Linked DNA regions of Homo sapiens: all the other regions are linked to region 2. Evidence: promoter capture Hi-C in 16 types of primary human blood cells and fetal thymus (Javierre and others, 2016). All regions are on one chromosome and are shown on one strand. Each heading gives the region's core, a stretch centred on a gene start or on the middle of the fragment in contact. The rest is flanking DNA. Distances are from core to core; before and after follow the strand shown. Region 1 overlaps SMARCA5 (SNF2 related chromatin remodeling ATPase 5). Region 2 holds the start of GAB1 (GRB2 associated binding protein 1). Region 3 overlaps GAB1 (GRB2 associated binding protein 1). Region 4 overlaps USP38 (ubiquitin specific peptidase 38).

Region 1 (6,667 bases), core at 1-2,500, 190 kb after region 2:
CCTCTTCAGAACAACTTGCATGAGCTGTGGTCACTTCTTAACTTTCTGTTGCCAGATGTGTTTAATTCAGCAGATGTAAGTATTTCCTGGTGCTTTCTGGTTAATAATAATATTTTGCTTAATGCTATATATTTTTGTAATAAAAGTGGCCTGCCTTTTAGCATGGCTTGAGGTTATTATTAATTTTTTATGCTTTTATTTACATAGTTAGCCTGGTGTTATCTCCTAGGTTGTCTCTGTATAATGGGAATTTACTTTTGTGCCTTTGGTTTCAATCTTATTTCATTATTATTATTATTATTTTATTTTTTTTGAGACGTAGTCTCACTCTGTCACCTATGCTGAAGTGCAGTGGTGTGATCTTGGCTCACTGCAGCCTCCACCTCCGGAATTCAGGTGATTCTTGTGCCTCAGCCTTCCGAATAGCTGAGATCACAGGTGTGTGCCACCATGCCCGGCTAGTTTCTGTGTTTTTTGTAGAGATGAGGTTTTGCCATGTTGTCCAGGCTGGTCTCAAGCTCCTGGCCTCAAGCGATCTGCCTGCCTCAGCCTCCCAAAGTGCTGGGATTACAGGCACGAGCCACCACACCAGGCCTCAGTCTTCTTTAAATCATTGTTTTCTCTATCTGAAATGGCATAAATTGTCACTCCTATTTGGTAAGTCAGGTTGGCCTGACTTTGTTTCAGTGGCTCTAGGTTGACTGGTTATGTTTTTAAGGTGCTGCTCAAGGTATTCCTGAAGTGATTTGTATACCTCACATTGCTTATGTTTTAAGTCCCAAGGATGACTGTCAAATTTAGTGAAATCTGTCTGGCTTTTCTTATATTATAGTCTAACAAACAAATAGAACCTAATCTTTATGGATTATTTATAGTCATAGAAAGGATAGTAATGGTTAATTAGCTATTTGAACTGTTAATAGTAATATAATAACTATGTCAAGAGTTTGTGCTATTAGAAATTGCAGTTTTTTTTGCCTGGACCAGTGTTTATTTTTGAAGCTTTGTTTGCATAGCTGGCGTCTTATGTGTATTGGAGGGATTTGAAGAGCTCCATGTTAGTATATTTTTGTACAATTAAGTTATAAAAAGGTATTAATTAATTTTGTTTTTTTTCTGTTGAAGATTGTTTTGAAAGAATAGATTGTGTTGTAAAAAGATATTTAATCAGACTCCAAAAGCAATTTTAGCTTCGATTTTATGTATTTTGATGTTTTTGAGATAATTCCTGTTTCTCACTACATTGACACTTTCATTTACTTTAAAGCAGTGAATTCTAAGATTATGTTTACTCAAAAACAAAGCACATATATAATACATATGTTCAAGAGATGAGGTTAGGGAAACTGCCCTTGTTGAAATCGTAACCAAATATTAATGAAATGCTGGTAATTTCAATTTCATTTAGTAAGTTTGATTAAAATTGACATTGTTCGTAAACTTGTATTTGAGTAGTGCGAATGGTCTCAGAGAACAAACTATAAAATGTTTTAATTTTCAAGCTTTTATGAAACTTGAAAGATACTTTACAAGAATATTAATTTTCTAATCCTATAGAACTTGCTCTCCAACTTTTTACTGTGAAACTTGTTATTTTGATGTTTTTGAGAAGAATGTTTAGAAGGTAGTGTGATTTCTGAACTACTTGTTTTAAAATTAGTAACAATGACACATGAAAACCAGGATTGGACTAAGTGATTTTTTTTTGTGGGTTACAATTCAAATTACTAATTCTAGAAATCATTTCTATATCTGGTATTATAGGGTATTTGTTAATATTATCTCTGATCTGAGTATATTTTTTGTTTGTTTATCTAGGACTTTGATTCCTGGTTTGATACAAACAACTGCCTTGGGGATCAAAAACTAGTTGAGAGGCTTCATATGGTAAGTATTTTGGAGTAGTGTTAAAGCATATTTATGATGGGAAAAAGGATAAAGGTTTAAATTAGTAGATTATTTTCCTGTTAATAAAAAACACAATGGCTTAAGAATCAGATCTGCTTGAATTCTGACACTTAACTCTTACATCTTACAATCAGTGTAGGGGGTGATGTGTGGTTGTTTCAGTGTTAGAACCTAGAATGGAATCCTGACTTAAGGGAGAAAGTATTCTCTTACAGTTATACAAAATACAGTGGGGGGAAGAAGAATTGCATAATAATTAATATAGACAAGTTTTTGTTGTTGTTTTTGAGACAGTCTCACTTTGTCGTCCAGGCTGGAGTGCAGTGGCATGATCTTGGCTCACTGAAACCTCTGCCTCCCAGGCTCAAGCAGTCTCTCCCCATTCAGCGTCTAGAGTAGCTGGGGCTACAGGCTCTGGCCACCATGCCCAGCTAATTTTTGTATTTTTTGTAGAGATAGTGTTTCACCATGTTGCCCAGGCTAATCTCGAACTTCTGAACTCAAGTTATCAACCTGCCTGCCTTGGCCTCCCAGAGTGTTGGGATTACAGGCATGAGCCACCACGCCCGGCCTTAATAGACAAGTTTTTAAAGCTTAGTTCAATTTACATTCCATGGAAGAATCTAACAGGTTCACTTTTGAAAGGGCTAAAGATCCATCTGTTTTTTCTTAAATCTAGCTACATTGTGTATAAACAACTGCTAATATTGCATTATGAGCACAGTTGGTATGTTTTTGCTTGCTGTATAGCTTTGTTTCTACATACAGCTTCCTGTGACGGTTCACAAGTAAAAGTTGGTAGGTAGAGAAACTTCTCTAACAGACACCAGATTAAAATACCCTGCTAAGCAGGTTAAAGCAGGAGCTTGTAAGAATGTTATATAAAGCCCTTAATGACCTAACTCAGGAATTCTCAGCCTCTTTTGACATTTTGGTCTGGGTATATCTGAGAGGGGTAAGGAGAGAGGGGAGAACGTGATTGTCCTGTGTATTGTAGCATGTTTAATAGCATCCCTGATACTTTTACTCACTAGATGGCAGTAGTAACATTCCTCCAGTTGTGACAACCAAAAATTTCTCTAGACATTGCAGATGTCCCCTGGGGAACAAAATTGTGCCCCTCCATGACCTAACCTTTTTAACATTCTTTGGCATCTGTTTTACTTCTTCATATATTGAGCTTTAATTTGATAGATTGCTGACCCCACTGTCAGTTTTCTGTAAACATTGTGGTAATTCTAATCTATTTTTGCTTATCATTTTTGCTACACCTAGAATCCTTTTTCCTGGTCTCTTTACTAATACCTAGTCCAAGACTCAGCGACATCACCTCCACTGAACCAGCCAGGCTGAGGCTGGCCTAGGTGCCCTTCTGTGTATTCCATCTTTAACAATCTGAGCATCCTAATATTATAGGACTTTGCAGAGGATATTGAGATGATTCACAAGTGTTTTCCATACTGGATTGTAAGCACAAAGGCAGGAAGCACAGATTTATTTGTCTTTGTATACCTGGCACAATGCCTAGTTAGAGTGGATATTTGAACAGGGAAAAAAATTTAAGTTCATGATTGTTCAAATATTTCATTATAAAGTACTTTAAAATTCTTAAATATTGAGAGTTTTGTTAAATATTTGAAGGTAGTAATTTCCTAGCTACCTTTGTTTCAATTCAGATGGCATTCATGCATCTAAGCACTCTCTTTGTATTTACTTAGACCAAGGATTGTGGAGTGTATATGTAATCTTGGGGGTAGAAAAGGAGGCAGAAGAACATGATTTTTTTTCATGCATTTTTTTCCCCTTATTCCTCTGCTCTTGGCTTTCCTTTAGTAAATACGTAGGTACATCTAGGTAAAGCAAATGAACAACCCATTCAGCAGTATCAACCAGATTTGGTAACTCTGTTTTGTTCACAGGGTATTTTGAAAATGCTTATGAAGTCAGGGAGAAGAGGTCTTGTAGCTACCTCTCTACTTTCTCCTGCTCTTTACTTTGAAGTTTCTACAGTAGCACCTGTGGTCTTATAATGAAAGGAGGGTTTAGAAGTCGGTATGGATGCGCTTAGGAATGAGATAACTCTTATTTGATGTATTAGTTATCTAATGCTGCAAAAGAACCCCTTATTCCCTCCACCCCCCAAAAACACCTTAACCCCCCTTTAGGGGTTACTAAGACCCCCTTATTTCCCCCACCTCCAAAACACTTCATAGTTTATATTTTATTAACAACCCCAGAATTTATGGGTTGACTGGATGGTTTCTTTGTGGATTACACTTGGGGTTATCCAGTTACATTTATTTAGCTGGACAATGCTAGAAGAGAACCGGTGGGGCTAAAGGTCTTCACTTACACATCTGGCAGTTGCTGCCGCCTGTTGACTAGGGCTGAACTAGCTTTTCTACGTGGTGATGTTAGAGAGGTGTTGCTGGTATTTTTCCCACTAATGTCTAATTTGGTTTGTGATATAGTCACTATTTTTAAAAACCAGTGTAAATAGAACAGAGGTACAAAAAAGGGTATCTTTAGTTGTGTAGTTAATTTTAAAACTTACTGTTCTATGAAAATGAGTGAACTACTACTACATATAACATGGAAATGTCTCATTGTTTAATAAAAGAAACCAGATATAAATGGGTGCATATTGAGTGAGTCCATGTATATAAAGTTAAAAATGATAGGCAAAATTAATTTATGGTGTCTAAAAATAAGAATATTGCTTACCCTTGGGAAGGAAAAGAGGGGATAGTGATTGGAAGGGACACAAAAATGATTTCTAGAGTGTTCTATTTGGGTAATAACATGGGTACTTTTACAGTACTTGAATAAAATTTCTAGAACTGTACACTCATGATTTATTGAAGTGTGTACTTTTATATTCTTTCCCTAAGTTAGTACATTAAGTTTAAAGACTAACCATAAGGAGATCTTAATGAGACCCTTGTCCATTCTTTTTTTTTTTTTTTTTTTTTTTTTTTGAGATGGAGTCTAGCTCTGTCGCCCAGGATGGAGTGCAGTGGCGCCATCTTGGCTCACTGCAAGCTCCGCCTCCCGGGTTCACACCATTCTCCTGTCTCAGCCTCCCAAGTAGCTGGGACTACAGGTACCTGCCACCTCGCCTGGCTAATTTTTTGTATTTTTAATAGAGACGGGGTTTCACCATGTTAGCCAGGATGGTCTCGATTTCCTGACCTTGTGATCTGCCTGCCTCGGCCTCCCGACCCTTGCCCATTCTTAGGCACTGTTAGACAGTCTGCATGCAAGTAACTAGTTTTAGACCTGAAAGGCAGCAAATTGTTGAAAACATTTTAAAAATTTACTATTGTTTTTAGTATTTTATGGTAGTATAACAAGTATATACTCAAACATATACAGGCACATCTCATTACCCTTTGCAGTGCTTCACAGATACTGCATTTTTAAGAAACATTTATTTTGCGAAACAAATAGATGGTTTGTGGCAACCCTGTGTCAAGGAAGTCTATCAATAAACACCGTTTTCCCAACGGCATGTGTTTACTCTGTTTTTAAAGCAGTAATGTATTGCTTTAAATAATGTATCACATTTTTAAAGCAATAATGTACTTTTAAAATAAGGTGTGTACGTTGTTTTTTTTTTAGACATAATGCTATTGCACACTTAATAGTGTAAATGTAACTCTTAGATGCACTGGGAAATGTGACTTGCTTTATTGAGGTAGTCTGGAACTGAGCCTACAATATCTCTGAGGTATGCCTTTATTGAATAAGTAATGGTCTTGTATTACTACCCTTCAGGAACCCAGTAGTAATAAATTATATACAGTTAGCCCTTCATATCCATAGGTTCCACATCCATAGATTCAATCAACTATGGATTGGAAATATTTGTCCCCAAAAAAGATAAAAATAAAATAGATGGTTCCATCTGTGTTAAATATACCGACCTTTTCCTTGTCATTATTCCCTAAACGGTATAGTGTAACAACTATTAACATAGCATTTACATTCCATTAACTATTATTATAAGTAATCTAGAGATGATTTAAAGTATATGGGAGGATGTTTGTAGGTTATATGCAAATACTACATTTTTTATAATGGACTCGAGCATTTGTGGATTTTGGTATTCAAAGGGAAGGGGACAGGAACTAGTCTCCCACAGATACTGAGATATGACTGTATTTGCAGGGAGAAGTCCTAAGAAATCACTTGATACTCACGCAGAGAAATTTCTTTTTCATGTATTTTATATACAATTCTAAGATGCTGAAATATGACCTTATGTGTAATATTGGTATTACCTGTTTATTTTTGTCCTTTTTAAGGTTTTGCGTCCATTCCTCCTTCGTCGAATTAAGGCTGATGTTGAAAAGAGTTTGCCTCCAAAGAAGGAAGTAAAAATCTATGTGGGCCTCAGCAAAATGCAAAGGGAATGGTATGTATTCTCAGATGTACTTGATAGCACTATTGATTCTTCCCTAAATTTCATGTGTATTTTGTTTTCCTAATTTGTGTCTTCATGGAATTCCAATTTGCTGGATTGAACTCAACCTGAAAAGAGTTTTCTTGTCACGTAGTATAGGACTTGCTCATTAAGTTCGTTATAGAAAGTTTTGAACCTGTTAGATGACAGAATCAGGATGGAAGGCTTATGAATCCAAAATTAAAATTGGGATTTAATTAAACGGGGTTCATATGAAACCATCTACTTGGGATTTTTAAAAAGGAAACTGTGATAGCACAGTGTGGGAGATATATGGTTCACTTATAGTTCATA
Region 2 (7,049 bases), core at 625-3,124:
GAAGTTATGTCTTTCCAGAAATGCTCATTTATGTCGTCATATTTTTAGCACTTTTATCTGATTATATTATCTGCTGAAATTGGCTTTGGGGCTTTTTCACAAATAAATTGGAGAAGATGTTTATTACAGAATCATGTTAAACTCAGGACCAGTATAATAATTGTGAAACACACAAGGAAGTAGGCAAATAGAACTAGGGTACCCAGTAAATTTCCTTCCTTCCTTCTTTCTCTCTCTCTCTCTTTTTTTTTTTTTTTTTTTTTGACGGAGTTTTGCTCTTGTTGCCCAGGCTGGAGCGCAGTGTCGCGATCTCGGCTCACCGCAATCTCCGCCTCCCGGGTTCAAGCTATTTTCCTGTCTCAGCCTCCCGAGTAGCTGGGATTATAGGCGCGCGCCACTACGCCCGGCTAATTTTTGTATTTTTAGTAGAGATTGGGTTTCTCCATGTTGGTCAGGCTGGTCTTGAACTCCCGACCTCAGTTGATCCGCCCGCCTCGGCCTCCCAAAGTGCTGGGATTACAGGCGTGAGCCACCGCGCCCGGCCAAGTGTCCCTCTTCTAGTCCAGCATCCGAACAGTAGATTTCAAACAAATACAAAGTTAAGTGGAATAGGCAACAAATGGAAGGGGTGTGAGACTTCAAAATGTCTCAGAGATAGGACCCAACCAAATCCTTGGCCTCGCCAAGCGCCCCCATCACTCTGGCAGAACAGCTCCAGAGACCAGCCCTGGCCAGCCCTGGGTCCCCATCTGTCCTCCCCTCCAAGCTGGTAGCTCCCGCGCCCTCTTGGTCTGTCCTTTAATCTCGCGCGGCGGGGACCGGCAGGATGGTGGTCTCCCCGCGGTTTTGCCTTTCAGGCTCTCAAGTAAAGAAAACCCTCGAAACTCCTGATCTCGAGCACAGCACAAGCTCCGAGCTGGCACCGGGCTGAGTCAAGATGGCAAGCCCCGGACTGAACATTCGAATGTCCCTCAGTCTTCCCCGCGCCCAAGCCCCGGTGCCTCTGCCCTAGCCGAGGCCTCTGCGGTCTTCCCGGGCGAGGAGCCGATTGGGGGCCGCCGGACGGCGGAGGACCCTGCTCCTGCTTCCCGAACTACAGATCCCAGGGTGCCTCTCGGACTCGCGCTCCCTCCCTCCCTTGCTCCCTCCCTTCGTCCGTCTCCTCCCCCGGCCCTTGTTGTTTTGGCTGGAAGCACTCCGGCGGAGTTTCAGAGAAAGTCTGGGCAGAAACCGGAGCCGGGCCTGAACGTGGGAAGGGGAGGAGGAGAGGGAGGAAGAAGGAGCCCGGCGGCCGGGAGAGGGAGGGAGGGATCGGGATCTGGGGCCGAGCCGCTCAGGACCTGCCGCGAGCCCCGGGGTGGGGGAGGCGGCGGGGGAGGAGCGCGAGGGGACGGGACAGCGGGATCCCTCCCAGGAGCCAAGCCGCCAAGCGCCTCGTTCCTCTGCTGCTCCCCGCCCTCTTCGGCGGCCGCGAGAGCGGACCCACCCTCCGGCTTGACCTGCGACCTCCCTGCGCCCGCCGCTCAGAAACGCCCCGCGCTTCGCTGCCAACCCTGCGGCTCCCTCTGTGACCCGGGACCAGCCCCGCGCCCGCTGCCCGTAGGCGGCTCGCGGCTTCCCCTTTCCTCGGCGTTCACCGAGCGCCGCGAAGTGACCCACCCTCCCCCGAGGAGAGGGAAGGAGGATCGCTCCGGGCGCATCGAAACCGAGGGCGGGTGGGCGGGCGAGCGGGCACCGCGCGGGGCATTGTGTGTGTGTGTGTGTGTGTGTGTGTGTGTGAGCAGCGCTGTGTCTGTTTCGGAAAGCGCTCTGGGGAGGTCTTGTCCCTAGGGGGCGGAGCGCAAAGGACAGAAGCTCCGGCACCGAGTCGGGGCAGAGTCCCGCTGAGTCCGAGCGCTGCTGAGGCAGCTGGCGAGACGGCACGTCTGGAGGCGAGGCGGGCGCACTGAAAGGAGGCCGGCGCGCCCGCGGCCCCGGCTCGCGTTCTGTTCAGGTTCGTGGGCCTGCAGAGGAGAGACTCGAACTCGTGGAACCCGCGCACCGTGGAGTCTGTCCGCCCAGTCCGTCCGGGGTGCGCGACCAGGAGAGCTAGGTTCTCGCCACTGCGCGCTCGGCAGGCGTCGGCTGTGTCGGGAGCGCGCCCGCCGCCCCTCAGCTGCCCGGCCCGGAGCCCGAGACGCGCGCACCATGAGCGGTGGTGAAGTGGTCTGCTCCGGATGGCTCCGCAAGTCCCCCCCGGAGAAAAAGTTGAAGCGTTATGTAAGTAGAGCTGCGGGCACCACTCCGCGGGCCTCGGCGTCCACACCCCTCCCCAGTCGGCTCGCCGGCGGCTGCAGCTGGCCGCGCGCGGGGCTGGTTCTTAAACGAATGCCGGTCTCTTTCCCCTTGGCCCCTACCCCTGGCGGGCTCGGGACAGGGTGCCTTGCACTCCCTCACGCCCAGGCATCCACTTGGCCGGACAACTTTCTTCCTCCAGGTTCCAGACAGCCTGCTTTGCGGGCCTGTTCGCCCCATAAAAGGACCTAGACGTCCAGCTAAACTCCTGCTGCATGCTTTTTTTCTTCCTTAGGAAGGATGGGGTGCGATGGAGAGAGGAGCCTTCTTCCTGCTTTATTCCTGCATCTGATTATTGGGCTGATGTGTGCTAAAGCTCCCGCACCGGGAAAACTGCCGAGGTTTTAGGGCTCACTAGCCCTTTCTTTGGTGGGCGCTCCCTCTCCTCCGCCCCTCGAGATGGGTTGCGGGAAGCGGGCTGTGGAGCTGAGGAGTTGGTAGTAGAGACAAGCATATCGAACGCGCGCAAAAGGGAAAGAAAGAAAAGTTATTACGCGCCCTGCCGTTTGCTTAGCAGGGTTCACATTTTCGCGGTTTTGAATTGAGGGACTTTGGAGTTTGGCCCGGGAGCCTTGGCGGTTTGCTGCGAGAGGAGGGCGCTGGGGGGGAGCCTAGTGGCTGGTGTTTGGGCGCCTTGGATGTGCTGTCAAACTCGGCAGGAGGGGACAGCTGAAGCCAGAAGGGATTTCAGTTGCGGTCCTTTCCCAGGGAACCAGAGTGGCTTTAATGGTGTTTGTGTAATTGATACAAGATGCTATGTGTTAAACCGTTTTAGCTGTTAGGAAAAATATTCCTTGAAAGTATCAACCTTGCTTTAGTGGAAACCTGTGTCCTCTTCAGAGGTCTGGGATCTTATTCTTCCTCCCCATTGGTTGTTTTGTTGCTGCTCCCTTGCAAAGGAAAGAAATGACACTTTTGTGCTGACATCTGGATCAAATATTTTTCTAGTAAAATGTGTTTGCAAAAGCAAAATTTATGCCCCCTTAAATATAATATAAATTTAATGCCTGTACGAAGGGAACCCGTTTGTCGTTGAGGAATATCTACACCCAGTATTAGAGCTCAGGTTAATCCTGTTAGTCACTGTTTGCTTGTATAGAACAGAGTGAAGTACACAGAGTGAAGTATTTAACTTCACTGACAACTCACCAGTGAATTTCTGATTTACTTTCTGCCAGAATTTATTATAGACAAGTAATTTTATTGAAAGACTCGATGCCACAAATCATAAGAAAGCTCTCCAGAGATGTGTAATGCCTCCAAATCCTGTCCATCTATCAGTTTTCCTGAATATCCTAGTAAAAATGCTAACTTTATTCCAAAAATATGAACGAGGCAGTGTTTTTTTTTCCAGCTGTTCTAAAGAGAAAGGTAGGGGTGTGTGTGTGTGTGTGTATGTGACAGAGAAGGAAGGGAGAAAGGGGTAGGGAGATAAATATATTTGTTTTGAGAAGGCCCAATTTAGGAAAAACAGATTCTTGGAGGAATTAAAGAATAACATATTTGCTGAACGTGAAAGTGATAATATAGGTTTAATTCATTCTTTCACATGGTTAGTTCATGGCTCACTCAAAAGACGCCAGGCACTGTATTAGACACCAACCATAAGGTCACAAAATACAGTAGGAAAAAGGAAAAAAGCCCTGCCTCTTGGGCTTAGAATTCAATTGAACTATTAACCAGGAAAGAAATCAGCCAAAAAGATTATGTCTTAACAAGAAAAACAAAAAGGAAAGTATAATTTGATCATTACAACTGTTTTCTGAGGTAGGTGTCATCTCTATTTTACAGAAAACAGTCCTGCATTTGAACCCAGATCTGCCTGATTGATTGGACTGTAAAAGGTTAACGACTCTCACCTAGTTCATTTCAAATGTGGAGCTTAGACTAGGTTATCTCTAAAGGTCCTTCAGGCTCACACCTGTAATCCCAGCACTTTGGGAGGCCGAGGCCAGTGGATCACCTGAGGTCAGGAGACCAGCCTGGCCAACATGGCGAAACTCTGTCTCTACTAAAAATACAAAAAATAGCCGGGCGTGGTGGTGTACGCCTGTAATCCCAGCTGCTGGGGAGGCTGAGGCAGGAGAAATGCTTGAACCTGGGAGGTGGAGGTTGCAGTGAGCAGAGTTTGTGCCATTGCACTGCAGCCTGGATGACAGGGTGAGACTCCGTCTCAAAAATAGCAACAACAAAATAAAGGTCCTTTCAGATTATAACTTTTCCTGACTCTGAATATTAGTTGAGAATACAAGAATGAGGTGGACTATGGATCAGGTGCACAGTGCTAAAGAAATGTAAGACCTAGTCTTTGCCTTTAAGTAGCTCTTTGAGTCTTTGGGACCACGAGACAAGTATATGTGAAAAAGCCAACAGTGCAAAGTGGTATATGACTGTGTGTCTAAGTTGAGTGGTATGGGTATTTTTTGGCTGTTCTGAGGAACAAGTTCAATGTAGACTGAAACTATGGGAACATTTGAGAGAGACAGTGGGCTGCCTACATTGTGTTTTCCACAGGAGGATGAATGTGCCTAATAGCTTGGGAGAAACTAGGATTTTCTTTGCCTGGTGTAGCACTGGTGTTTTCTTTACCCACGAATAAAGTAGATGGAGATAGTCCTGGAAGACAGTAGACAGGGCGGCTGTCAGAATAGAGGAAACCAGCATGGAGTGTAATGAGTTAAATAAGGCTTATTTAACTGTCAGGTTAAATAAGGCTTGTATTTTACCTGTCAGGTTGGTGGCCCAGAAGATTTTGACATTCCCAGATTATTGATCTTTTGGCTTTGCTGTCCAGTTTAGATGGTTTTTGCTAAAGTAGCTTTGACCATCAAAGATATAGACATGTATACGTGCATTTCCTATGCTTGTTTTTTTTATGTAGAATGTTTATTTTTCTGGATAAAGGAAACATTGTTGGCCACCCAGTAGGCAAAATGTTTGTGGATAATGATTTGTAATGAATGGATTTGCTATGAAAAGATATCTTGGATGCTTGATACTATAATTATTAAATGAGACTTCAGGGAGTTTGAGCATCATGATTCTGTTTGGAAATATTTGGCCCATGGGACTTTGACAGTTGTCTCACTGTTTACAGCATTTATAGGGTAGTCCGAACACTGATTAAGATGATCCATAAGGGCTTTTAAGTGACAAAAAAATTGTTTTAGTTTTTTTTAATTAATTTTTTTTTGAGATGGAGTCTTGCTCTGTCACCCAGACTGGAGTGCAGTGGCACTATCTCGGCTCACTGCAACCTCTGCCTCCCAGATACAAGCAGTTCTTCTGCCTCAGCCTCCCCAGTAGCTGGGATTATAGGCATCCCCCTCCACACCCAGCTAATTTTTGTATTTTCAGTAGAGATGGGATTTCGCCAGGCTGGTCTCAAACTCCTGACCTCAGGTGATCCACCCACCTCAGCCTCCCAAAGTCCTGGGATTACAGGCATGAGCCACCACGCCTGGCCTTAAATTGTTTTAGTTTTAGCTTTAAAGCCATCTCATATATGGCCCCCAATGTATTCCATTTACAGCTCCGTTTTATGTTTACTGTTTCATAGTCAACTCAAGCAGGATTGTTTTTTGTACACGCTAGTGTGTTAGTCTGATGTGTAAGCTTTTCTTGAATTTTCTAAAGAATGACACACAAAAAAATGAAAGTCAAGAGTAGTCAGCAGATTCCCCAGCTTTTCCTTCTCTTTTTAATTTTTTCTATATTCGCAAAAGGTTCTTTCTTGTATGTGTTTCATTCTCCTGGAAGTTTTTAAAATCTACTTAAAATGTAGGTGAAAATTTTAATGCTTCTTTTCAGGGTTGCTACTGTGGTGTTGCTGTTTTCATGCTGTGTTATATATTAAACAGCTGCTTTTTTACTTTGTTAAGGACCTGATGGAATCATAAACAGATTACTGTCACTAGGATTACAGAAAACAAGTAAAGTCTTGGTAGTATGCACTCAACAATGGTGCTCAGATTTTTAAAGAATTATTTAAAGAAATGATGGTGAAATTTTCATCAGAACCTGAAATTTTAGCTGAAATAAGATGCAAGTCTGTAAATAAAGTATTGTTTCAAGACAGCTGGCTACCACCATCGCTCTGGAGGAGGAGCTTCCTTGCCTGAAGCCCAAACACTAAGTTTGGGCTCCTCCATAGCCCAGCTGTCAGCATTGGGCAGGTGCACAATCTCAGCAGGAGAACCTGCTTCTGAGGCCAGAGCAAGGTGGCCTGTTAGCTGACAGCCAGCCTGGTAGCAAGGCCCCAGCCAGTTCTTAGGTAGGTAATCTGTACCCAGCGTGGGCTCTCTGTCTGCTCTGCAGCTGTCAATTAACAGGACAACTCTTGTCTGGACTTCAAAAACACACCCCTGGTTCTGGAAATGGGCCTAGAAACAGAAATAGCCTCTCCTACTGGGTGGGCACCTGACATCTGACATGGAGGAGAGGGGCGTGGGCAGGCCAAGTGTCAGCATCTCCTTGGTTCAAGGACAACCCAGGACCTGTGCTAAGCATGAAACCCCTGCTCAATAGTGTCACTACAACAAAGAGGACTGTCATGTCTAGAAGCTCTTCCTATCCTTTTTTGACAATTACCACTAGCAATCAATGGATTCTGATGTTTCTGCTTACAGTGACTGAATAAGCATAATTATTCTATTGAAGGAAATTTTTTCTTGCCATCCTCATGTTAGTAAACATAATTCAGACTCCCAATGTTT
Region 3 (7,175 bases), core at 2,447-4,946, 140 kb after region 2:
ATATGTATAAATTTATTTCTCCCCTCTTGTTCATCATCTTTTGTAAAGGTCCCATTGTAGATCTTTTCTGCTACCAAATAAAACTTTTCAAACAATTTGGTTTCAAGACCTTAAATAGACAAGTTGGATACTAAGATTGTGAACTGATAAGGACATATAAATTTATATTTCCAGCCCTTCCTTAGAGTCTTTATCTGCATCAAAAACCCAATTCTGCCATTAACTGTGCTTCCCAGTCCCACCTCTATATGTCACTCATTTTCTGCAACAAAGATCTCACTAAATCATGTTGAAACACAAGTCATGATCCTCTCTAAGTAAATAGAAAAAGCTCCCTGGAAAAACTCTGTTGCCACATGCACGTGCCCTGTTACTCCTCCAGCCAGCCAGTGCTGCCAGCATTTTATTGTGTAAAAGTCCAAATAAATAAGGGCCTGCATGCAACCTTTATCTTCAGAAACTAGGTTTTATATGTAAAATGTGACTTGGGAAATGATTCTGTTTATTAACTGGCTGGGATTTTTCATTTCTATGAAAGTTTCAAACATCTCCAGTACTTTATAAAATCCCAACAATTGCTGTAAGTCAGCACTTTGGTCCACTCAGCCCACCCAGCCCACTTGCAACTCTGACTCTTCACTGAATCATATTTGGGAAGTTTGGGTAGGGTGAGGCTATCTTCTTCAAGATTATTTTCTCATATGTCTGTCTGTCACCTTGTAAACCATGAGACTCCTGGGTATTTGCATGTAACTTCTTTGAGGAAGTTACCACCATCTCTGATATAGACACACTTTTTGAGTTGCAGTTTCTGTTAGAATTTTTTGGAGACTAACTTGCCAATTCTGTGAATGTTATTGAATATTTAAAAAGCTGGGTCTGTAATGGGAGGCATTTTATTAGCTGTTGTGATTGGGTAACATGTCCCCTTAGATTTCCTGATTTAAAATTATACAAAATTACTATTTTTGATAAAATAAAGGAACACCTACAGAAAATTAAGTTTCTAAGATGTTTCTATACTTCATTAGAAAAGATTTTATTACTATTACTTATGGTTATTGGTGATTAACACTTAATGCGTCTCCTCTGATTTTGTGTTCCATGAGGTGCTTGGAACATTTGGAGTGCTCTGTGCGAGGGACATACAGTGATATAGGAAATTTAAAAATTAAAATAATACCCAAAACCCACTTTATCAGATATGGTATTGTGATGGTTAATATTATGTGTCAACTTGGTGAGGCTATGGCGCCCATGTGTTTGGTCAAACACTAGCCTAGATGTTGCTGTGAATATATTTTGTAGATGTGATTAACATTTACAATCAGTTGATTTTAAGTAAAGCAGATTCTCATCCATAATGTTGTTGAACCTCATTCAATCAGCTAAAGGCCTTAAGAGCAAAAGCCAAGGTTTCCAAAAGAAGTAATTCAGCCTCAAGATCATAACAAATTAATCCTAAGTTTCCATCCTGCTGGCCTGCCTTCTTGTAGATTTTGAACTAAAGAGTGCATCATCACCTCTTACCTGATCCAGTTTGCTGGCCTACCCTACCAACTTCAGACTTGCCAGTTCTTACAATCCTGGAGCCTTTCTTAAAACTAATTCTCTCTGTCTCTCTCCATCTCCCCCGTGTGTGTGTGTATATATATATCTTCAAAACACATATAAAACATGTAAGTGTTGGTATATAAGAATATATAGCTATCTTACAGATATGTGTATCTTATTGGTTCTGTTTTTCTGGAGAACCATGACTGATAAACATACTGAGTCATTAATCTGAGTGCCTCTCATACCAAGCAATGATTTTGAAGTTTAATTTGCAATGTGTTAGCAGTCTGCTCCAAAAGTTTCTTCTGAAGCCATTTACTGACAGTGAACCATGTTTCCACTTCTGGCCATAGCTTTTTATCTTCTAGGAACCATTAAATCAACATCTCCAATGATGGAAAATAGTATTCTAAGAAGAACACAGATTATTGGATTCTTGTCACAAAGGGTACAGAATACTATTAAGGACAGAATTTCATTTGTAACACTGGGTTGTAGTCTTCACCTCTTCACCCTTGTCACATGCTATGACCCTACACATTTATTTAGTTTTCCCTGCTTTAAATTTCTAAAACATATTACCCATGTACATCTAAAGCTGTTTTTTAATCAGCCTTATTAAAACAATGTGTTTGAAAGTTGCTTATTCCGGTCCTTAGACAAAACAGTAATTTTGAAAGTCAGACTAAGAAGAAAATACTGTTGTCCCAGATTTTGATTCTAATTGATGGTGGCTTATTAATAATTTAGTCATTTCACTAAGCTACACATGTTGAATTATTCAAGGTGCTATGGGAAACATGAAAGAAATCTACCTCATCTTTATCTTTACAAATATGTGTGAAAAAATAATACAGGACAGTAAGTTATTATTTCTGAGGTACCAACTATGAGCTACCAAAGAAAAAACAAAGTTCTGTATTTAAGAAAAGCTTCACAAAGATGGAGATTGAGCTGGACAATGGAGGATTTGCAAGAAGGTTGGCTTGCTACTGGTTTGTTTCATGAGAAGAGGTAAAGAAAAAGACAAAAGCAGAATATGGAGAACTATGTACTGGGTGGAGGCTTATGAAATATTGTATTAGTTACGGTGTGTAATCAGAATGTAGTGACTTTAAAAAGTCATCTATTCTCACAGTTTCCATGGTCAGAAATTCAGGAGTGTCTTGGCCGAACAGTTCTGGTCCAGAGTCTCTACTGAAATTACAGTCAAATTACCTGAGACTGGAGTTATCTAGGGCTGAAGGATCTGCCTCAGGTGGTTTACTCACATGGCTGGCAAGTTGGTGCTGCCTGTTGCTGGGAGCCTTTGTTCCTCTTCATGTGGCTGCTTCACAGAGCTGCTTGAGTATCTTTGAGGCATGGGGGCTGGCTTCCCCCAAAGCTAGTGATCCCAGAGACCAAACAAATGACCTAGCCTTAGAGGTCACACACTGTCATCTCTGCTGTGCAGTAATGGGTTGTACAGTTCACGCCTTGATTCACTGTGGGAGGAGACTTGCAAGGGTATGAATACCAGGAAGTAAGGATCACTGGGAGCCATCTAAGATGCTAGCAGTCACAAAGGCAAAATTAAGAGTTGAGAGATGAGGCCAAGGATGGAAGACCTTGGAAACTCAAGTGTGTTGGTAATTAAGGACTTGAAAATGTCAGAACAATAACCCAAAGCATGGAAAGAGTAGGCCACAAGAAGTCAGGAGGCAGTTCTAAACCTAGGTCTGTGAGTTTCAATGTATGTTCTTATAAAACTATTGAACAGTTGCTGTTCAATGTAATACATATGTAGTCCTCATACTACAAATTTATCACTGGTCAGTTGGCTAGAAGTCAAGCATCAAGGCTGCGTTGGTTTGATTTCTTCTGAGGTCTCTTCACTGGTAGATAGCCATCTTCTCACTGCGTCCTCAGATGGTCTTTTTTTCTGTGTTGGCACCCCTGGTTCTGCTCTCTCATTATAAAGACATCAGTCATACTAGATTAGGTAAAATGAATAATTTTACCTTAATTACTTCTTTAACAACCCTATCTCCAAAAACCTGACACATTCTGAGCTTGTGGCTATGTTTATGTCTCATCTGCCTGGCTATGTTAACTTTTCCCAGCAGGAAAAGATGGCACACTCAAAGAAGTAATTGAGGAGAGTTGAATGAAGGGACTATTGTATGGGTAGGGTTAAGGGAGCCAACAAGGAATGGTTAAAAACCCTGAGTAATCTGCATGTGGTGGTGCATACCTATAGTCCCAGCTACTCAGGAGGCTGAGGCAGAAGGATTGTGTGAGTCCAGGAGTTGAAAGCTGCAGTGAGCTATGATCACACCACTGCACTTTAGCCTCGGTGACAGAGCAAAATGACCCCATTTCTTAAAAAGTAAAATCCTGAGCAACGGTAAGTGACTAGCAGCAGTGAGAAGCCATTACCACTTCTAGAACTAAGGAGGCAAGTGGAGGAAGCTGTTACACCCAGCAAGAGCTGTAGCTGGTGGAGACAGTCTGCCAACAGACACTTTAATCTTAGGTAAAGGGACACACACACTATCAAATGCTGACCAGCAGTGAAGAAACCAGGGTACCTCTCTCACAGCTTGCCATTGGCTAAAACCAACCAGCCCCCAGAAAGGCTGGGAACCCAGAATATGTAATACATAGAAGTCAGTCTCCCAGGGCACTTGGGAAGGCAGAGAAGGGTGGAGGTACAGCAAACAGAGAAAATCAGGTACAGCAAACAGAGAAAATCCTTAACAATCTTCATTATCTGTCATCATGTCAGACCAGTAAGTCAGTTAATCTTTTATTGATCATCCTCATGGACATGAAGCATCTGTAGAAGATTGGCTTGCTGAACAGCTGATCCAACCTCTCTCTGGAGTACCCTCCTGTATTTAAGAAGCTGTAAAGATAAAAACTACATTTCCCAGACTTCCTTGCAACTAGGGCGCTGCTTGTAATTAACTTTTCACCAGTGATACTTGCTTAATCTCAGAAACAGTTCAGTGGAGAGACAGAAGTCTGTGAGGCATCAATATTAAATCTCGCAGTTTGCATTTAGGATGTGAAGCAATGGATTCCTGCTAAGCAATTCTTGCAGTGGTGTATGCTTGGAGCCAATACTTGCCATGGTAGATTACTGTACTCTGAAGGTATTACGGTTTCAACCATTGGTGCAGTGGTTTCCTGAACCCAGATTCCCGATTGTTCCCATGTCTGGCAGCTCCGTAGCGTTGTTCTGAGAATCCTTCCTAAAGAGCCTTCACACCTACCAGTGAGTGGTGTGATTTTAATCTGCATTAAATTATCTGTCGTTTAAAAATTACTAGCGTGGCTTAATTCTCTTGAGCTGACACAGGGGCCAAGCTTGTTGCTTTCTGAATTTTTTTTCTACTTTCGCATTGTAAAACTGTAATTAAAGACAATTTGGGAGAGTAAGAAGAAAAATGCCCACAAGCCATGTTACTTCCCTACCTTTGCCTAAATGTGCAGCTGGACTCTACTTTTTGCATTAACTATTATCATAAATGTTTTCCTAGGTGTTAAGCATCTGAATTATTTTTAAAGACTGCGTAATTTTCCTTCAAATATTTTGAAATACTCAATGATAATACCCAATATTGATACAGATGTGAGTGATAGGACACTATCATCTATACCACTAGGAGCATAAATTGGTACAACTTTTTAATTTTTTTTTGAGACGGAGCTTCACTCTTGTTTCCCAGGCTGGAGTGCAGTGGTATGATCTTGGCTCACTGCAACCTCCACCTCCCAAGTTCAAGCCATTCTCCTGCCTTAGCCTCCCAAGTAGCTGAGATTACAGGCATGCACCAACACACCTGGCTAATTTTGTATTTTTAGTAGAGATGGGGTTTCACCGTGTTGGCCAGGCTGGTCTCAAACTCCTGACCTCAGGTGATCCACCCATCTCAGCCTCCCAAAGTGCTGGGATTACAGGCGTGAGCCACCACGCCCAGCCTCAACTTTTTCAAAGAGCAGTTTATACATACGATTTTAAAGTCTTGAAACTGTAGTTAGCCTTTAACCTAGCAATTACATTTCAAGCAATTAGCATTAACGAATTCATCACAAAAAATTGTCTCCAACGAATTAGGGGCTTATCCAACAATGGAGAGGAAATTAAGTTGTACATACACATGTATATAGCAATTTATAATATAGAATAATAATTTTTAAAACCATGTCCTTCCAACAGGGGAGACCTCAAAAAGGAAAGGTAGATCAAGTATTTGAGAGATCCAGTCTCACTTCATCCTTGTTTTAATTACGGTACCTTCACATTTTTGTTTGTACATTGGAAGAAAAGTATAAGGTTTTATTTGAAAAATAGGTTTTACTACTTGAAAAAAATGTTAGCTCTTGCAATAAAAGAATATTTGATGTCATGAATGGTTCTTTAAGACCATTGGTGTAAAAATTAAGACTATGTAACCTGGGTATAATCCTGTTTTTGCATATAACTAACAGGATTAAAACAGCAGGATATCACTACAGATACTGCAGACATTAAAATGATAACGAGAAAGATTATGGACAACCTTAGGCCAATATATTTGAAAACTATATAAAATGAACAAATCACTAGAAAAGACAACTTTCTAAAACTGAAAAGAAATTTGAATAGTTCTATATCAGCTAAAATGAGTTTTATAATTAAAAACCTTTTTCCAAAGAAAACTCTGAGCTTAGATAACATCTCGATGGGTTCTATCAAACATTTAAGAAACAAATAGTTTTACCAAACATTTAAGAAATAACAAATAAATCCTGGTAAATCAAGAATGCAAGGTTCTTATCAATAAAATAAAGGGGAATTAATCACATGATCATCTCAATTGATGCAGAAAATTGTTAAACTTCAACATCTATTCATGATTTAAAGAACAACTCTTAGCAACATTAAATAAAAGGGAAGTTTATGAAAAAAAGAATATTTAAACATTTATCAGCAAACCTGACACTTAATGCTGAAATATTGACAACTTTCTCTTTGAGACCTGGAACAAGACAAATATGTCCATTATCACCACTTCTATTCAGTATTGTACTGAAGGACATATGCAGGGAAAATTACAAGAATTTGAGAAAATAAATAAAACAGCTGTTATCCACAGATAATATGATTGTGTATGTAGAAAGCTGAAATAAATCTACAGGTAAAAGGTTGTTAGAAATAAGGTTAACATACAAAAATCAATTTTTGTATGTAACAATTTGAATATGAAATTTTGATAGCATCAAAAGAATTGATCAGAAACACATTTAAAATAGTATGTGCAAAACCTCTGCTATAAAATATTAAGAATAAAGTCAAAATAGAGGAATAAAAAAGAGTATATGATGTGCATGGGTGGGGTAATTCAATGCTGTGAAGATATCAGTTTTCCCCAAAGTTGATCTTTAAGTTCAATGCAATGTCATTCAAAATCCCAGGTTTTTGTTTTGTTTTTGTTTTTGTTTTAAATGAACCTGAGAAGCTGATTCTTAAGTGTCTATGGAAGTGCAAAAGACCAAGAATAGCCAAAATATTCTTGAAAAATAACAATGTGGAAGAAGTACTCTATAAGATTTACAACTTATTATAAAGATGTAGCAAGTAACATTGGTAC
Region 4 (6,507 bases), core at 719-3,218, 140 kb before region 2:
ACAGATTATTGCATTACCCAGTTATTAAACCCAGTACCCAATAGTTATCTTTTCTGCTCCTCTACCTCCTCCCACTCTCCCCGCTCAAGTAGACCTCAGTGTCTATTGTCCCCTTTTTTGTGTTCATGAGTTCTCACCATTTAGCTCCCGCTTATAAGTGAAAACATGGGGTATTTGGTTTTCTGTTGCTGGGTTAGTTTGCTAAGGATAATAATAGCCTCGCCCTCCATCCGTGTTCCCGCAGAAGACATGATCTTATTATTATGGCTGCATAGTATTCCATGGTGTATATGTACCACATTTTCTTTATCCAATCTGTCACTGATGGGCATTTAGATTGATTCCATTTCTTTGCTATTGTGAATAATGCTACAGTGAACATTCATGTGCATGTATCTTTATGGTAGAATGATTTATATTCCTCTTGGTGTATACCCCATAATAGGATTGCTGGGTCAAATGCCAGTGCTGCTGTTAGCTCTTTGAAGAATCACCATACTGCTTTCCACAATGGTTGAACGAATTTATACTCCCACCAAGTGTATAAGTGTTCCCCTTTTTTTGAACCTCACCAGCATGTCTTCTTTTTTGACTTTTTAATGATAGCCATTCTGACTGGTATGAGATGGTAGTTCATTGTGGTTTTGATTTGCATTTCTCTGCTGATCAGTAATACTGAGCTTTTTTTCTTAAGCTTGTTGGCTGCATATATGTCTTCTTTTGAAAAGCGTCTGTTCATGTCCTTTGCCTGCTTTTTAATAGGGTTTTCTCTTGTAAATTTGTTTAAGTTCCTTATAGAGGCTGGATATTAGACCTTTGTCAGATGCATAGTTTATAAGTATTTTCTCCCATTCCGTAGGTTGTCTGTTTACTCTGTTGATAGTTTCTTTTGCTGTGCAGAAGCTCTTAAGTTTAATTAGATCCCGTTTGTCAATTTTTGCTTTTGTAGCAATTGCTTTTGGTGTCTTTGTCATGAAATCTTTGTGTCCAGGATGGTATTGCCTAGGTTGTCTTCCAGGGTTTTTAAAGTTTGGGGTTTTACATTTAAGTCTTATCCTTGATGTAATGAACATCGATACAAAAATCCTCAACTTGCAAAGCAAATCCAGCAGCACTTCAAAAAGCTAATCCATCATGATCAAGTAGGCTTCATCTGTGGGATGCAAGGTTAGTTTAGCATACACAAATAAATCACATAAACAGAAATAAAGACATAAACTACATGGTTATATCAATGGATGCAGAAAAAGCTTTCAATAAATTCAACATCCCTTCATGTTAAATACTCTCAATAAACTAGGTATTAGAGGAACATGTCTGAAAATAATAAGAGGCATCTGTGACAAACCCACAACCAACATTATACTCAATGGGCAAAAGCTAGAAGCATTCCCCTTGAAAACCAGCACAAGACAAGGATGTCCTCTCTCACCACTCCTAATCAATATAGTACTGGAAGTCCTAGCCAGAGCAGTCAGGCAAGAGAAGGCAATAGGTGACATCCATATAGGAAGAGAAGAAGTGAAACTATTTGTAGATTATATGTTTCTGTATCTAGAAAACCCCATAGTCTCAGCGCAAAAGCTCCTTCAGCTGATAAACAACTTCAGCAAAGTCTCAGGATAAGAAGTTAATGTAAAAAAATCACTAGCATTCCTATACACCAACAGCAGTCAAGCTAGGAGCCAAATCAGGAAGGCGATCCCATTCACAATTGCCACAAAAAGAATAAAATACCTAGGAATACAGCTAACCAGGGAGGTGAAAGATCTCTACAATGAGAAATACAAAACAGTGCTCAAAGAAATCAAGAAGACACAAACAAATGGAAAAACATCCCATGCTTATGGATAGGAAGAATCAATATCATTAAAATGGCCGTACTGCCCAAAGCAATTTACAGATGCAGTGCTACTTCAATCAAACTACCAATGACATTCTTCACAGAACTAAAAAAACACTATTTTAAAATTTGTGTGGAACCAAAGAAGAACCTGAATAGCCACAGCAATCCTAAGCAAAAAGAACAAAGCTGGAGCCATCACATTACCCAGCTTCAAATTATACTACAGGGCTACAGTAGTATATTAAAACAGCGTGGTACTGGTACAAAAACAGGCACATAGACTAATGGAACAGAATAGACAGCCCACAGACGAAGCTGCACACCTATGACCATCTGATCTTGACAAAGCTGTCAAAACAAGCAATGGGGAAAAGGCTCCCTCTTCAATAAATGGTGCTTTGACAACTGGCTAGCCATATGAAGAAGATTGAAGCTGGACCCCTTCCTTACACCATATACAAAAATCAACTCAAGATGTTTTCCAAATTTCTAGGAAGGAGATTCTCTGACATAACTTTATCATTCATTCTAATGTTTATTGCCCATATTGAGGACATTCCTTAATCTAGTAGTGGGTAATGTGGTAGTTAAATCACCTATAACTCCAAATAACTCAGTAAAGGACTTGGGCTTAGGAGTTGCTAAGTATGAGCAATAATCTGGAATCAGCATCATCATAATTCATCATAAGTTTAGAATATCTTAGGGCAAGCCAAGGTTGATGTTAGAATATGTGGTGTTATGGGTCAGGTTGCTTTTCTTATGCATTTTACCCAGTGGAATAAATTTATTTTAAACAGACACTATGGCAGATAGGAATAATGGAGAAAGAAAAAAAATCAAAGCTTCTAATTAAATAAGTTTTATACATTTCCTCAAAAACTTTAGTATTATAATAATGTCAAGAAACATTTAGTTTCACTTATTCAAAAAAATCAACTTTCACACATTTAGAAAGTAATAGCCTGCTTGGAAGTATATCTGTATAACTGTGAAAGACTAAGTCTTATTTCCATGTCGTGATAATGTTGACCATTTGAGATATAGTAATAGACAACCATATAACCTGATTACAAAGACCTAATCTAATTTGACAGATTTGGAATTATAAATTTAATAATTACTTCTAAAATTTTTGCCTCTTCTGTCTCCCTTCACCTTTGAGAAAACAAAATAATTTTGGATTTCTGACTTTTAGCAAGAGAATATCTGATAAATGTGGCTTTATGCGACAGAAGTATAATTCATATTTGCTTAGAAATGTAAAGATGATAGCAATAGAATGAACTCACTAGGAACTGGTAGTTTTATGGTCACATTAGTACCTGTGATGGAGGTAAGAAGGTAATGCAAAAGCTACAGTGTGATTTAAGCACAAATGTAAAGCTAGACAGAGCAGAATGGAAATAGCACTGTGTTGTAAGACTATGATTGTTCTTTTTGTGGGAAGGACGGGGAATTAGTGGGTTATTACTATAATTGCTGTTATTGCTGTTTGATGGTACGACCCTAATAGTTATAACTTTTTTACCATGAGTTAGCAACCCCAAAATGTTCTACAAATAGAACAGAAGATACCTTTTACCATAAGAAGTGTAAATATGTAGTATCAGATTATAATTAAAAATTAATTGAAAAAAATATAGTATCATACTAATGGAAAGAGCTATGTCTGTAAAATAGAAGTTGTTTCATTTTAATAACCTCCTAAAGATATGATTGGCTCTGGATTGATGACTTTTTAGTTTAATTTTACAATGAAAGAACATGGTTGTGCTGATGATCAATATTAACAATATTCTATATGTTTATGAGCAATGATCATTTTAGATTTCACTTTTATTTTTAGCCCCAGGTCTTTAAAACTAACAGAAGTTTCTGATGCCCTTTATTTTTAGAACCATCTCATCTTTTGCTGTGAAATGGGATTTGTTAGTAAGAATAGCCACTCTAACATAAGGCATGGTCTCTGTGCTTATCTAAAAGTAATCCCATTACCTGAGCTGCAATTTTAGTTACTCATGTAAAGATTTTCTTGAAGTAGACTTTAATGTGCAATGTACTTTTAATTCTTTCAAGTAAAAAATTTTAGATTCACACTAGATGGAGCTCTTTAGCTAATTCCAGGATTATTTTTCAAAAGTTTATTCCCATTGAATGACCTGGTAAATATAATAACCCTAACAATTTCAACCTACAGCATTTTTCAGAATGGTGGCAATGACTAAGATTCCTATTTTATACCTTAGTTTATGTTTTAGATGGTGTGTAAGGATGAGGAGAGGGGTCATATATGAGATTACAGTCATATGCGACTTCGAAAACTAGATTTACCTTGATATTTTAGAAATGTTTAACTTAATAACAAGAAAAACTCTGTGACTGCACATACAGAAAAGTATCTGCTGATCATATATCGTTTGTGTTCTGTTTGTAGGCTAGAGAATGTGTTACCAATTTGTATAAATTCAGCATTGTTTATCCTTTTTTCTTTTCAGATTGTTCCTCATGTGGTTAATTTGGTTCATTCTTTCAAAAATGATGGTCTGCCTTCAAGTACAGCCTTCTTAGTACAATTAACAGAATTGATACACTGTATGATGTATCATTATTCTGGATTTCCAGATCTCTATGAACCTATTCTGGAGGCAATAAAGGTATGATGATAGTTGTACCAATATTTGTGGAGTTGTGTTATATTAATAAGGTGAAACATTCTTATAACCAGCTACTCAATTTACTATTTTATGGTAATATGCTTTTTATTTGAAAAATGCAGTTAGAATCAGGTTTCATTTAGGGAGTAACAGCTTTCTTGCTGGAGTCACCATTCTAAATTAATAACCATATTTCTTTATTTCTGCAGTGTCATCAATTATAAGGCATATCTTTAAATTTATAATAGCTTTTTGGGAAATTTGTTTAAAAAGAAATGCTACGTTAAGTTAATGCATACATCAGATTTGCACCCCAATATTAGAAGTGTTAAAGTATATGTAGAGTACATCTTAGAATACAGGAAATGGAGTTTAATAAAATATTTGACTTTGATTTCTTCCCCTTTTTAATCTTTTTTTTTTTTTTCTTCTTGAGACCAAGTCTCGCTCTGTCACCTAGGCTGGAGTGCAGTGGTACCATTTCTGCTCACTGCAACCTTCACCTCCTGGATTCAAGCGATTCTTCCGCCTCAGCCTCCTGAATAGCTGGGACTACAGGCACCTGCCACCATGCCCGGCTAATTTGTATTTTTAGTAGAGACAGGGTTTTACCATGTTGGCCAGGCTGGTCTGAAACTCCTGACCTCAAGTAATCTGCCTGCCTTGGCCTTCCAAAGTCCTGGGATTACAGGCGTGAGCCACTGCACCTGGCCTCTTTTTTAATTCTATTTTTGCTGTGGACTGTTCATCAATGTTTCGAATCTTTACTTGAATTATTTGTGGAGTTATACTGTGTTTCAATTTTATATGGAAATGGTTCTAAAAAGCACTTTTTTTTTTTTTTGGACAGTCTTGCTCTGTTGCCCAGGCTGAAGTGCAATGGCATGATCACGGCTCACTGCAGCCTCTACATCTTGAGCTCAAGTGACCCTCCTGCCTCAGCCTCCCAAGTAGCTGGGACTCCAGGTGCACACCACCACGCCAGGCTAACTTTTTATTTTTTGTAGAGTCGGGGCCTCACTATGTTGCTCAGGCTGGTCTTGAATTCCTAGGCTCAAGTGATCCTCATCCTCCCAAAGTGCTGGGATTACAGGCATGAGCCACTGTGCCTAGCCTAAAAAGCACTTCTGTTTGTGTTGAAGACTGGATCACAATAAACATACTTTCCTCTCAGTAAACTTACTGCATAATCAGTGTATAGCAAAAGAATAGGAGAACTGAACTCAGCCAAACTCAATCAGAAATTATTAGAAATCAATTCTATTGATGGTTTTTTTGAGATCTGAATTTCAACATAAAGGTCTTATTATCTTTACTTCTGTATCTGAGGTGGATTAAAAACAGTTCTTTTTACTGTATCATTAACTAAATCAAACTTATTTTGGTTGAGCTCAGAACACAAAGACTGTTAAGCAATTAATGTATATTGCTGGGGTGACACTTTGACACTTCAGAAGTAGATTATGTTCAGGAGCATTGTGAAGTGGATTTGATGGTAATATTAATCTCTTTCTACATTGTCCCTGGATCCATAGATGATAGTTGCTGCACTTGTTAATTGATTGCCATTGTTTAGTTCATCAGAGTTTTTCATGTTGAAAATTCTGATAACTCATATAGGCTCAGAAGAAACAATGGGCTCGCTCTAAGCCCAAAGAAAGCACTTTTTCTTAGCTGTCAACAACAACAAAAATGAGAAGATTGAAACTCCTTCAGAAAATGTTTGTTTGTTAAGGTCTAAGTGCCAGATGCTAATAGCAATCCAGATAAGCCCTAATGATTTTACCAACTTCCCTTACTCTCCAGTGCTCTATTCATGCTTGAAATAATTTACACTTGAAATGTTATCTCATACTTCACAAAGTTGATAAGAAAAATCCATATGTTGTAATAATTTTCTATATGGGTAACATGAGATTAAGTTTTATTTTTCTTAAAGGTCATTGTGCATAGATGCTTTCATTTCTCATTTCTTAATTACTTTGGGATTTTATTTCTAAGGGT

The links. The method cuts DNA at HindIII sites, captures the fragments that hold promoters and counts their contacts. A CHiCAGO score of 5 or more calls a contact.
Region 1: a contact is called between a fragment that was not itself captured here and the fragment with the promoter of GAB1 in region 2, in 1 of 17 cell types (neutrophils). The highest score is 12.1, in neutrophils.
Region 3: a fragment that was not itself captured here is called in contact with the fragment with the promoter of GAB1 in region 2 in 8 of 17 cell types (naive B cells, total B cells, M0 macrophages and 5 more); the score reaches 9.3 in naive B cells.
Region 4: a contact is called between a fragment that was not itself captured here and the fragment with the promoter of GAB1 in region 2, in 6 of 17 cell types (neutrophils, erythroblasts, megakaryocytes and 3 more). The highest score is 12.6, in neutrophils.

Annotation. Positions count from the first base shown.
Region 1 is chr4:143,528,640-143,535,306 of GRCh38, forward strand. SMARCA5 (SNF2 related chromatin remodeling ATPase 5) reads left to right here. Exons shown (of 24, transcript NM_003601.4): 8 at 1-75; 9 at 1,819-1,887; 10 at 6,216-6,325. Among named protein-coding and RNA genes, the nearest start is that of SMARCA5-AS1, 17 kb to the left of the region's middle. The HindIII fragment of the contact is 500 bases long and covers 1,001-1,500 here.
Region 2 is chr4:143,335,002-143,342,050 of GRCh38, forward strand. It overlaps GAB1 (GRB2 associated binding protein 1), which reads left to right and starts at 1,875. Exons shown (of 10, transcript NM_002039.4): 1 at 1,875-2,259. The coding sequence starts at 2,188. It also overlaps the pseudogene LOC124900789. RefSeq lists enhancers at 682-891, 1,801-2,614 and silencers at 1,084-1,251, 1,192-1,491, 1,592-1,651, 1,722-1,771. The HindIII fragment of the contact is 8,165 bases long and covers 1-5,947 here.
Region 3 is chr4:143,473,205-143,480,379 of GRCh38, forward strand. GAB1 (GRB2 associated binding protein 1) reads left to right here. Exons shown (of 10, transcript NM_002039.4): 10 at 1-1,361. Among named protein-coding and RNA genes, the nearest start is that of SMARCA5, 37 kb to the right of the region's middle. The HindIII fragment of the contact is 2,419 bases long and covers 2,488-4,906 here.
Region 4 is chr4:143,199,064-143,205,570 of GRCh38, forward strand. It overlaps USP38 (ubiquitin specific peptidase 38), which reads left to right. Exons shown (of 10, transcript NM_032557.6): 5 at 4,345-4,503. Among named protein-coding and RNA genes, the nearest start is that of USP38, 17 kb to the left of the region's middle. The HindIII fragment of the contact is 1,441 bases long and covers 1,249-2,689 here.